Linked DNA regions of Homo sapiens: regions 2 and 3 are each linked to region 1. The links are contacts of gene promoters, found by promoter capture Hi-C in blood cells and fetal thymus (Javierre and others, 2016). All regions are on one chromosome and are shown on one strand. The core of a region is centred on a gene start or on the middle of the fragment in contact, and the rest is flanking DNA. Distances in the headings are between cores, read along the strand shown.

Region 1 (4,168 bases), core at 1,053-3,552:
GTGGAAAGAATGGCCATGAATAAAGAATCTACCTTAAAATGTTCAGTCAGAAGAGCAAGCAAATGTGTGCCTTTTTTTTTTTTTTTAACCTTGTATGAGATAGCTCACGTTTGGATTAGTTTAAATTAAAACAACTATAATCTAGGCACTCTAGGCACAGATTTGATGCTGAGAACGAGTCTAGCATGACTGGACTCTAGCCACAAGCTCTATAACCACTGCAAGCTTCTCTGTTTAGGTCTTTTAGTCTCTGAGCTAAAATTTCTTTCCTCCTCATTACTCCAGCCGACACCACTTCTTAAGTGATTCCCACAATCCCCTGTTCTGTCTAACTGTAAGGACAACCCCCAAGAACCTTGGTTGGGGAAATAGGTTTGCGGTTTCTTTCTACCCAACCCTGTACTACTTTTCTTTTTCTTCTTCCTGCCCACCTCCTTTACTTCCCAAGCCTTGCTATTCTCTACACGTAGGAACTTGAAACCTAAGAGTATGGGAAAGCAACAGAGCAGCAGCAGTGGTGCCAAGAACTGGGGATGCTGCCAAGCTGTTCCCCAGGCCCCATATGCAGTGACCCAACTACATGCAGATTGGACTTAACTGCCTATGGGGCCTTGCACACTTAATATTCCTTTTTGCTTCTGCTCATTTTCTTCCTCCCACTTAAAGCAGCCTCCTCCCAAGCTTGTGACTCATTCAAATCCAATCCACCTTTGAAGACCCAGGTGAGGTCCGACTTCTTCAGGGAAGCCTCCCCTGACCACTTTAGTCCAAAGATATCCCACCACTCCCACATACAGAAAACAGGAACTGTACTTACTGTCTGGACCATAAGGCATAATCACATACACATTGCTATAATTAAATGTTTCATGTGTATACATTTAACTTTCCAAGGGCATGAGCAGTGTCTCACATGTCTTTAAAACCCTTACACTCAGTGAGTTAATACTTGCTGAACAGTGACTGAATCAGTGGGTTTTTATGTGTTTAGGCTAAGGCAGGAGGAAGAAGATGCATGTTGAAATGAAAAAGGCTGAATGGACACAGATGGGTAAAAAAGCAGCAGTGGGTGAAGACGGAAAAACAATGTAGAAGAAAGGTGTTCAGTTCACACCTGCTTAAGTGATTTACTGCGAGGTTGGAAAGAGATACAGGAGAGAGATGTCAACTGGCAAAAGCAGGGTAAAGGCATTTCAGTTTGAGGCAGAAGACACCAGGAGAAAGATGAGGCTACAAAAGAAATTCTGACTAGATTCTGCTGAAACCTAGTGGTAGGCCAATTGGATAAGGGAAGCTAAAGGGAGCTACTGGGATGACATGAGTAGAGATATGGCCATGTAGGTGAGTGAATCCGTAGGGGGTGGTATGAAGGGGGAGGTAAATGGATAAAATGGTAGAGGGTAGTTAGGCAGGTAGGTTAGCTGTTGGGCGGGTAGGTGGGTGGGTAGATGGGAGGTAGGGTAGTGGGTAAGTGGGTAGGTGGTTAGGTATTTAGTTGGGAGGGAATAGGTGTGGGGCTTATTATTTAAGATCCGGCCCCTCCCTCACCTTGACCCGGAAGCGGATGAGTGCTAGCCTCACGCAGTGGCTCAGGCAGGCCGGTGGCAGGAACCAGGCCCGCGGTGGAGGGGTGCCCTTGTTGCCCACGTGTCCCACGATCAGTTGCGCTGTCTGCCGCTCGGCCTGGCACCGACGGCCCCACTCGGCCAGCCGGTCCTTGCCCAGGCCCCCCGGGAACATGACCACGAGCTCCAGGCCGTCGCCGCCAGGATAGGCACAAGCCTGGCACAGCGCTGACAAGTAGCCCAGCATGGCGTTCCATTGGCCGCCACACACCCAATCCGTCTGGTAGCCGCCATAGAGCCGCGGCAGCGCCGAGCCGGCGTCCACCAGCACCCGGGCCCCGGGCAGCTGAGGGGGCGGCGGCGGCGGCAGCGGAGGGTGCAGCCCGGGCTGCGCTTGGCCATGATGGTGGAAGTGGTGAGCGGGGTGATGGTGCCGAGTCGGCCCCGCGCCCCCGGAGTAGGCACCCAAGGCAGCGGGCGGAAGCGGCGGTTGCAGAGGCACGGAGCCCCTGGCGGCGCGTGGAGCCCCGGGCGCTAGGGCTGCAGTCGGCGGCAGCTGGCGGTGCAAGTGCTGCTGCTGCTGCTGGCGCGAGACCGTGCGCGCGAGTTTTAGGAGGTCCACGGGCACCACGGCCCCGGGACAGCGCTTCTCCAGGAACTCTTGGAAGCCCTGGACACCCATGCTTCGTCGGTGGGCAGACGCGATAGCGGCTGCGCAAGCAGGATAGGCGACGATCTGGGCGCGAAGCTGGGGGCGGGCGCGTGCGCACTCCGCGGGGGGCGAGGGGGGGCGGGAAAAGGATTCCCGAGGGGAGGGGTGAGGAAGCGAGGGAATGAGGGCGGGGAGGGGAGGAGACCACAAATTGGATTTGGGTAGAGAGAAGGGGAGGGGCAGACCGGACCCGGGAGAGGCTGGGAGGATAAAAGCGAGGATGGGCTCTAGTCACTTCTCTTTTTTCTCCTTTCCGGCCGCTCTTCTTCCCGCTTTAGAAGGGGTGAAGCCTCTTTCTTCCACCTCCGGGAGCCATGTTGCCTCGTCTTCTCGGTGGTACACGCTTTCTAGCTGGAGGAAGGGGAGCGAGGAGGGGCGGGGCGGGGCGGGGAGAGGGGCATCTTGGTAGTTGTAGTCTTCTCTATGGCCTTAGGATATAGTCGAGGAACCAGACTACCACCCTTCTCAGCCCTTGTGCTCACAGGGTCACAGGAAGCGGGGCGTGATGATGAGTGTTTAGGAGTTGCACTCCAACTCCTTGCATCTCACTGAGTTGCTTAGGTTATTTACTGCTTTTTCCTGGAAAAAGAGTTTTGGGGGATGGATTGATGCATCATGGGAATGGAAGTTAGAGTGGATTGACTGAATTCAGCTAAAGTGAGCTAAAACTCCCCAGGAGGGAGGATTTTCCCCTTAGTGGAAAGATAATATTTAAAGAGCTGTTGGTCCCAATTAAGAAAGACGTAACTGGTCGGGCGCGGTGGCTCACGCCTGTAATCCCTCCGAGGCGGGCAGATCACGAGGTTAGGAGATCGAGACCATCCTGGCCAACATGGTGAAACCCCGTCTCTACTAAAAATACAAAAAGTAGCCGGGCGTGGTGGCACGTGCCTGTAATCCCAGCTACTGGGGAAGCTGAGGCAGGAGAATCGCTTGAACCTGGGAGGCGGAGGTTGCAGTGAGCCAAAATCATGTCACCGTACTCCAGCCTGGTGACAGAGCCAGACTCCGTCTCAAAAATAAATAAATAAATAAAAAGAAACTTACATTATTTACTTGCCTAAGGCAATGCAGAGACAAAGTTAAATCGAATATCCTTGCCCTCAGCATCTCTTTGGGCAGGGAGATAATTACCAACACAAATTACATTACAAATTGTACCTTTTTGGTACTCCTAGATCCACTATGTCCTATGGTTAGGGCCTTTGGTTTCCAAACTTCATTGTGTTTTAGTCTGTCGGGAGCTTTTCTAAATAGCTGCAAGGGCTCTAATTTCAGATGTATGGAGTCATAATCTTTTGAAAAATGTATTTTCAACATACTGAGATGAAACAGATGCAGTGCCTGTCTTCTTTCTGGCTTTTAGGGCCGGCCCACTCTTTCAGCAGGAATAAAGCAGAAAACAAGATCTGAAATGAGTAGTAGCCAGATCTGGCTTGGAACTTACTGGAAGATGGGAGATAATGGCAGGCAGAGTTAGAATGCAGAAGTGCAGAACCCAAGAGTGATCGGGATGAATGAGATAGGGGAATACTCTATTAGGATGCAAAAGCAAAAAAGCTTCAAGCTACATAAAAGAAATTATAAAATAGTGGAGATGGAACAAGCCAGATTGTCAAAGAATAAGTAGATGGCAAGGCAGTGTACATAGTTAACTCTTGAAAGCAAGCAGTGAAAGGAGAGAGCAGTGGCTTGAAGGGATGAAGGATGGAAGGAATGGAGGTTTTTTAGTATAATGGACACGTGTGGGACGGTCTGCCCAGCCCCTCTTTTCCGGGAATTGACCCTCCACCTTCCCCCATTTATAGGGTTATGGCAAAAACTGTCGTGTTCCTATAACCATAGCTTATTGGGTCAGAGGTGGGCAGCTAATCCAACCTGGGGCAATCAA
Region 2 (4,168 bases), core at 497-2,996, 1.5 Mb after region 1:
GATGTTTGTATCCCTGCTGTCCAACACAGTTCCTGGCACCGAAAGGCTGCTCAATAAACATTTGTTGAATGAATGTGTGAGTAATAGAGCTTAGTTCACACTTTCTGAAAAGAACCTATAATTAAATGTTTAAAAATTAATTCAACAAAAATAAAAAGTGACCTCCGCTTCCTATGTATGTAAGGGTTTTTTTTTTTTTAAGAATAAAAATGTGAAAAATAAGCAGCCAAAGGTACCTGGGTAGAAACCAGAATCTGAACTGCTGGACTATATAGTGTCAACAAAGAGTCAAACTCTGGAAAACATTTGATGAGATTTATTCTGAGCCAAATAGGAGTGACCATGGCCTGTGATACAGTCCTCAGGAGATCCTGAAAACAAGTGCCCAAGGTGGCTGCGGTGCAGCTTGGTTTTATACATTTTAGGGAGACAAGGGACTTCAGTCAAATACATGTAAGAAATATATGGGTTTGGCCCAGAAAGGTGGGACAACTCGGAGTGGGGGTGGGAGGGGGGCTTCCAGCTTATAGGTAGATTGAAAAAATTTCTGGTTGACAATTGGTTGAGTTTAAAGACCTAGGATCAATAGAAAGGAATGTTTGGGTTAAGATAAGAGGTTGTGGAGACTAAAGTTTAATCATGCAGGAAGCCTGCAGGTTCAGAAAGAATAGAATGTAAATGCTTCTTATCAGATTTAAAGGTCTGTGTTGATGTTAAAGCTGGAGAAATATAATGAGGCATGTTTGACCCCTACTTCCTGTCATGGCCAGAAAGTCACTCAGGATACATTTTTAAAGAGTGCCCTGGCCGAGGAGAAAGCACATTCAAATGGTTGAGGAACCTTGGTATTTTATTTTTGATTTACAATAGGAATGCACTGCACATTGGCCCTATTCACCATTATTTGGAATCTATGCTTATTTGATTTAGTTTCTCAATCCTTTTCCACTACCTTTCTTCCATTCCCTTCCTTCTACCCCTCTTCCTCCTTTTTCCTCTTCTCCTTACCCCTCTATTCCTTCCCTCTTTCCCATCTCCCCACTTCTCCCCCTTTTCTTCTTCATCCCTCCCCTCCCCTTCTTTATCTGTTTCTTCCTCTTCTTACTTCTTGCCTCTTGGCACTTTGAGGCAACTATCAGCAGTTCCTTATGAAGCTTGTGAGGTAGTGAATGTGGGTAGAGAAATATAGCTCGTGAGTTGCTATAGGCCAGATCTTGAAGGTCCTTGTATTGACACACTTTTTCCTTAAGTTATGGGAGGATTTTAAAGTAGAGAAGTAGTCTCCTCCGATTTGTGGTTTAAAAGATTACTCAAGTTGAGGTTGCAGTGAGCCATGATTGTGCCACTGTACTCCAGCTTGGGTCAGAGAGCAAAACCCTGTCTCAAAAACAACAAGAACAACAACAACTACAACGACGATAAAAAGAAATTTGATCGCACCTGTAATCCCAGCACCTTGGGAGGCCAAGGTGGGCAGATCCCTTGAGGCCAGGAGTTTGAGTCTGGCAACAAAGTGAGACCCAGTCTCAACAAAAACTAGTTAATTAATTAATTAAAATAAAGGATCACTTGAGCAGCTTTTAGAGAGGATGGATGGTTTGAAGGAGGGGGAAAAGGATACCAGCAGCAACAGGGAGACAGTATTTTTTTTTTGCTTGCTTTGTCGCCCAGGTTGGAGTGCAGTGGTGCGATCTTGGCTCACTGCAACCTCCGCCTCCTGAGTTCAAGCAATTCTCCTGCCTCAGCCTCCCGAGTAGCTGGGATTATAGGCGCGTGCCACCACACCTGGCTAATTTTTGTAGTTTTAGTACAGATGAGGTTTCACTATGTTGGCCAGGCTGGTATCGAACTCCTGACCTCAGGTGATTCGCCCACTTTGGCCTCCCAAAGTGCTGGGATTACAGGTGTAAGCCACTGCACCTGGCCGAGACAGTACATTTTTATAAAAGAGTGGTTTAAGGGGCCAATTTGGCTGGTGAAGCCCGGGGGCAGTAGGTGTTGGAAGACATATTTGAAAGCTGCCTTTAGAAAGCAAGCACATATTAATTACGTCAAATGTTTTGGGGGATGAGATGACTAATGAAGATCAACTCACTCACTCCCAACCCCTTTGGAGCTGCCACTGTGGGAAAATCACTTAGTAGGCTATTGTGGATATCTAGGCCAGAGATTATGATAGCTGGAACAAAAAGAGTGGCAGTAAGAATAAGAGCAGGCAGGTAGTAGAAAATAGACTGATCATGACCTGGTCTCATTGACACGTATGGAGGGCAGTGAATCTAAGGTGACTTCCTGGTTTGGGACTCAGGATCTTTCATCAGACAAGGAAAGCCAGAATGGAAGCTTGTTTGGGGGTAGTTGGTTGGAAGGAGACAAAAGATTAGCTAGTGATAGAGCGAAGGATCACTAATCAGAGTAGAATAACTTTTTTCTTGAGGCAAGGCAGTTGTGGAGAAAAGGAATCACACAGGACCTCAAGTGGAAAGTGTGGGAGCAGACAGTGTAACTGCCCAACGGGTTCACCTTGCCTGCTGCCTAGACAGAGCTGATTTATCAAGACAGGGGAATTGCAATGGAGAAAGAGTAATTCATGCAGAGCCAGCTGTGGGTGAGACTGCAGTTTTATTACTCAAATCAGTTTCGGGGGATTGAAATTTTTAACAATAATTTGGTGGGTAGGGGCTTGGGAAGTGGGGAGTGTTGACTGGTCAAGTTGGATATGGAATCATAGGGGGCTCTAAGTGAGTTTTTCTTGCTATCTTCTGTTCCTGGGTGGGATCGCAGAACTGGCTGGGCCAGATTACTGGTCTGGGTGCTGTAAGTGAAACGAGGGAAGTTCCCCTATCCCCCTTGCAGGGCATGCCACAGCGGGAGTGGCTCACTGCTTCACAACCTCTAGGGGGAGCATGCAGAGGGGCAGGCTGTGGGGCTCCGACCCCATGGCAACCTCTAGGGGTGAATATAACATTTGGGTGGGAAGGCAGGAGTGCCTATCCTCACCTAGGTCCATGGGCACAGGCCCCAGGGTGGAGCCCTAGCCACGGACCCGCCTTTCTCTGCCCAGCACTTTCCTGCCCCGCTCCTGTATCATAAGCTGGTGCATCTGAATGCAGGGTCTGCAAAACATATCAAACAGTGATCTTAGGTTTTAAAACAGTGATGTTATTCCTGGGAGCAATTTGGGGAGGTTCAGACTCTTGCAGCTGGAGGCTGCATGGCCCCTGAATTGTAATTTCTAATCTTGTAATCTTGTGGCTAATTTGTTAGTCCTGCAAAGGCCGACTGGTTCCCAGGTAAGAAGGTTTTTTTGTTTTTTTGTTTTTTTTTAGTGGGGGGCAGCGGGAGGGAGAAAGGGCTATTATCAATTTTGTATCAGAGTTAAACTATAAACTAAATTCCTTCCCAAGGTTAGTTCGGCCTACGCCCAGGAATGAACAAGGACACCTTAAAGGTTAGATGTAAGATGGAGTCGGTGAGGTCTGATCTCTTTCACTGTCATAATTTCCTCAGTTACAGTTTTTGCAAAGGCAGTTTCAATAATAGTACTCTGTTTCCTGCAGTTTCTCTTCCTTCCTTCCCTTTTTTTCTTATCAAAGTAATATATGTACACACTTACGTGTAAATAATACATGTAGTATATCATATATTAATTATAAATAATATAATTAAACTACACATTTATTTAAAATAACATATTTATAACATATTATTTAAGTATTAGTTGATTATATTAAATATAATTAAATGTCATATTAATCTTATTATTATATATCATTTATACATTATAGAAATATATATAGCACAGAAGGGCTTCAGATAAAAAATAATAGTCCCCTGACATATCACGTCCTATCCCCTACCCCATTCTCCAGAAGGAACATCTTTGAACCCCTCTGGGCATTTTTCCTGGTGTGCATATCCCTACCAGTAGTCTTTCTGTTCTCAATTCTAGACTTCACTTATTTACAGATGGGGTCTCGCTATGTTGGCCAGGTTGGTCTTGAACTCCTGGCCTCAAGTGATCCTCCCTCCCCAGCCTCCCAAAGTGCTGGGATTAAAGGCATGACCCACCACTCCCAGCCCTAGACTTTATTTATTGACTTCTTACTATGGTACTTCCTTCACTTCCTGTTTTAAACAAGTGGGAAGATGAATGTGTGTGTTAAAA
Region 3 (4,168 bases), core at 991-3,490, 1.2 Mb before region 1:
CACCTGCCCTTGGCCTGGGCCTCAGTCATGAGGGAAGACCCGCCCCACTTCCTTGACACACATTGGGACCCTCTACCCATCAGGATAAGGACACGTTCCAGTTATGGGGAGGCTCATGCTGTATACAGAATCCCCCATACCCCCTCCAGCCCTTGACTGCCGTCCTGCTGACTCTCAGTGCTGAAAAAATTCTTTTTTTTTTTTTTTTTTTTTGAGACAGAGTCTTGCTCTGTCACCCAGGCTGTAGTGCAGTGGCACAATCACGGCTCACCGCAGCCTCAACCTCCTGGGCTCAAGCAATCCTCCTACCTCAGCCTCCCAAGTAGCTGGGACTATAGGTGCACGCCACCATGCCCAGCTGATTTTTTTGTTTTGGTTTTGGTTTCTTTGAGACAGAGTTTCCCTCTGTCACCGAGGCTGAGTGCAGTGGTGTGATCTCGGCTCACTGCAACCTCCACCTCCTGGGCTCAAGCGATTCTCATGCCTCAGCCTCCCGAGTAGCTGGGATTACAGGCATGCACCACCATGCCCGGCTAATTTTTGTATTTTTAGTAGAGACAGGGTTTCGCCAGGTTGGACAGGCTGGTCTCAAACTCCTAGCCTCAAGTGATCCACCTGCCTTGGCCTCTCAAAGTGCTGGGATTACAGGCATGAGCCACCATGCCCGGCCTGATTTTTTTTTATATGTTTTGTAAAGACAGGGTTTTGCCATGTTGCCCAAGCTGGTTTTGAACTCCTGGGCTCAAGCCATCTGCCTGCCTCGGCCTCCCAAAAGTGCTGGGATTACAGGCGTGAGCCACCATGCCTGGCCTGAAAAAAATTCTTTCAAGGGGGAAGAAGAGGTAGGAATCTCTACATTTGCTGGTGGACCTCATGCCAATGGATGAATCTGTGGTATTTCCCCACTCTTTACCTCATGCCACCACTTCCACAGGTAACGTGAGGATTGCATTCTCAACATCCATTACCAAGCAGGGTGTGCGACAGAGAGACAGAGAGGCAGACCTCCCACCAGTGAGTCAGTGATGGGGCCCTTGAGGCCCTGGGCAAACCTCTTCCTTTCCCCTTTCCTTGTCATCTCCCATTGACCCCGGCTGTGCCTGAGCCTTTCCCTGTCTCCTCCAGTGAGTCCAAGTTACAGCCAGTTCCTCCCTCTTCATGAGGACTGTGTGAGCACAGGCCCTACCCTCACTTGGCTTCAGCCTCCTCATCTGCAAATGGTGAGCTCCTCATTGGCAATTTGGCAGATTGAGTTAACATGGGTTACATGGGTTTGTCACAGGGGTCGGCCCTGAGCAAGGATGGGGTTAATGTCTGCAGACATTGTCATTAGTATTTGTACCACTGGCTCCTACATGCTACACTGAGGACTTGCCCTCCCTAAGGATAAGGATCCTATGTTTTCATCTCTCTGATACCAGGGCACCTTGTTCTACCCCTGTGAGAGAAAGGACCATCCTGCCTTCCTCACAAAAATATCCTGATATATGAGCAGCTCGGAGACCTAACCTTCTGGACAAAGACCTCCCACAAAAATGTTCAAAGATCTCATGCCTTAGGACAGTGCCCACAAGCAGTTCAGAGACCTCTCACCCTAGACACCAACCACCAAACAGCTCAAAGATGCCACACCTCAGGACACAGACCCCCAACCAGCTCAGAGAATTCCTACCTCAAGGTAACAGCTCACAATAACTCAAGGACCTCACACACCAACCCACAAAGAGCTTACCAGCTACACCCTGGTACACATACCCACAAAGAATCAGCTCAGGGCTGCTGTGTGATGCTGAATCTCTGTGCCATCCAACACTGTTATGGGGAGGCCTTGGATCTTGTAGTTCCCCACAGTCTGCAGTCACCACCGTTGTTGTCATGAGGAAGGCAGGTTCACACCAGGGATGGGGAAGGACCCTCTGGGACTGAGGGGATCAGAGAGTAAGCTCTCATATCTGGCTCCCAGGAATGGCCATCGTCTGACCAACCCTGATCACCTTTGGTCCTGGTGACTTTTGTATCTTGCCCCATGGGGGCTTCAGGGTAAATCCCAGAACACAGTAGGAGACCCCTAGACCCCGTTATCTTTGCCATCTCTCAGCACCCACTGTGGGGAACTGGATCTTGGAGAGAGAGTAGAGGTCCTCCCTTCACACTGCCAATGGCAACCCCCATTATGGCCCTTCTGAGCATTCTGGTCCTTTCTCCCAAACTTCCTCTCCAATTGGCAGCTGCCACACCTCCTCTCTCTCCCCAGCTCCCCACCCTTGTGAGCCACCAGGGCTCCCCTTCCACCACGGACCTCTACCTCCCTACCCCAGCCCTAGTCATGGGGCCTCAGTTATACCCTCTCACGCCCACTTCGGTCCTCTCACCCGGCACCTAGGCCTACCTCAGAGGACCCCCTCAGGACCCTCCCTGCACTTCCTGAAAGTGCAGACCATTTTGCAGGACAGATATCTCTCCTGCCCCCACACAGGTTTCTGTCACAACATCCCTGTTAGGGCAGAACTGGAAATGTCTCCCAGATCCAGATGAAACTCCAGACCCAGACTGAGAGTCCAGGGCAATTCGCCTAGGGCTGGAGGGGGCGGGGTGGGATTCCTGAAGGAGGCGCTGGGGTGAGTGTCACCTCAGGAGATGGGAGGACACTGCCCAGCTGGGTCTGTGAGGACAGAGAAGGGACCCTGGGAGGGACAGGGGCAGCATGAGCGCTGGGAGTGTCCCAACTGCGGTCCTCCGGGAATTGTCATCTGGCCCCAGCTCTGCCCCACCCTGGTTGGAGGGCCCCAGCCAGGGATCTGCCTTCTTGGCGCTCCAGTGTCCTCATCAGCGACAGAGGTGACAGGGCTTTCTTCCAAAGGTGCTAGTGGGGATTAAATGAGATGGCACATAAGAAAGAAGTGCTTGGGACACTGCAAGTCAGATCTGTGATGACCTAAAACTTAGAGCCCTGCGCACTGAGCGCCAGATGACCCCTTGCGAGTGGTCTCACTTAAGCCCTGCCTGTGACTTGGGAAGCATCTTTAGCCTCATACTGAACAACAGTCCAAGTCTTGAAGACTGGATCCCACTGGTCATCCAGTCCTTAAAGCCCAGGCTCCGCTTTACGAACTTCCGCCCATCAGCCACTGTGCCTGACCGTGCGCGAGCGCGAAGACCCAGGGACCCGGCTCTACGAGTGCATCCCGCTGTACTCTGTAAGAGCCGCACTCTCTAGGTGAGCTTCCCAGAGCGGTCCTTGATGCCTTCCTGCCTTGATCGTCCCACAACCGATCGACTGCCCCTTTGCAGGTTCCTAATTTATTCAGATCTGTAGAACGGAGACGGGCGTGGCCAAAAATGGGACTAGAGGGGTCTCCGAGAAGTCGGAGAATGGGTGTCAGCTTGGGCCTGGGTGGAAACCAGGAGGACGGATTGCCGCCTGGGGCGCTCGCCGCCGCGCCCGCCCTACTGTCGAAAGGTGGGGCTGATTTCGTTGGTGGGCGGGGGTGGGCTTTATTGTCCCTCCACACACAGCATTTGTATTCTTACAAAATAGAAGCTCCCTTCCCCTATGGTATCTCGCATAATGGTGTGTTCATTTCCGGTACCCGCAATGGTATGTTACATCCTCCACGCCTCATCCCCAGCTGCACACTCACAGGAGGTGAGATCCAAGAGGGGCCAGCTATTTCATACTTAGGTCCTGTGGATTACTCTAATGGTTCTCAAACTTTAGTGTGCATCAAGAATCACCTAGAGAGCTTGTTAAAACACAGATTGCTGGGCCTCACCTTTCAGAGTTTCTGATTCAGTGGGTCTGGGGAGGGGCCCAAGACTTTCATTTCTTTTTTTTCTTCTTCTTCTTTCTTTCTGTTTTTGCTTTTGAGATGGAGTCTCGCTCTGTTGCCCAGGCTGCAGTGCAGTGGCCGAACTCGGCTCACTGCAACCTCCACCTCCCAGGTCAAGTGATTCTCATGCCCCAGCCTCCGGAGTAGCTGAGACTACAGGCGCACACCACCACACCCGGCTAATTTTTGTATTTTTAGTATTTTTAGTAGGGACGGGGTTTTACCATGTTGGCCAGGCTGGTCTAGAACTCCTGACCTCAGGTGATCCGCCCGCCTCAGCCTCCCAAAGTGCTGGGATTACAGGCATGAGCCACTGCACTCGGCCAAGACTGCATTTC

What was found. The method cuts DNA at HindIII sites, captures the fragments that hold promoters and counts their contacts. A CHiCAGO score of 5 or more calls a contact.
Region 2: a contact is called between a fragment that was not itself captured here and the fragment with the promoter of FAM120C in region 1, in 1 of 17 cell types (fetal thymus). The highest score is 6.9, in fetal thymus.
Region 3: a contact is called between a fragment that was not itself captured here and the fragment with the promoter of FAM120C in region 1, in 4 of 17 cell types (total B cells, fetal thymus, naive CD8 T cells and 1 more). The highest score is 9.1, in total B cells.

Annotation. Positions count from the first base shown.
Region 1 is chrX:54,180,952-54,185,119 of GRCh38, forward strand. FAM120C (family with sequence similarity 120 member C) reads right to left here and starts at 2,303. Exons shown (of 16, transcript NM_017848.6): 1 at 1,549-2,303. The coding sequence starts at 2,247. RefSeq lists silencers at 1,796-1,845, 1,856-2,065, 2,636-2,735. The HindIII fragment of the contact is 3,156 bases long and covers 680-3,835 here.
Region 2 is chrX:55,713,123-55,717,290 of GRCh38, forward strand. No RefSeq gene overlaps it. Among named protein-coding and RNA genes, the nearest start is that of RRAGB, 2.5 kb to the right of the region's middle. The HindIII fragment of the contact is 1,189 bases long and covers 1,153-2,341 here.
Region 3 is chrX:52,997,430-53,001,597 of GRCh38, forward strand. No RefSeq gene overlaps it. Among named protein-coding and RNA genes, the nearest start is that of FAM156A, 41 kb to the left of the region's middle. The HindIII fragment of the contact is 8,235 bases long and covers 1-4,168 here.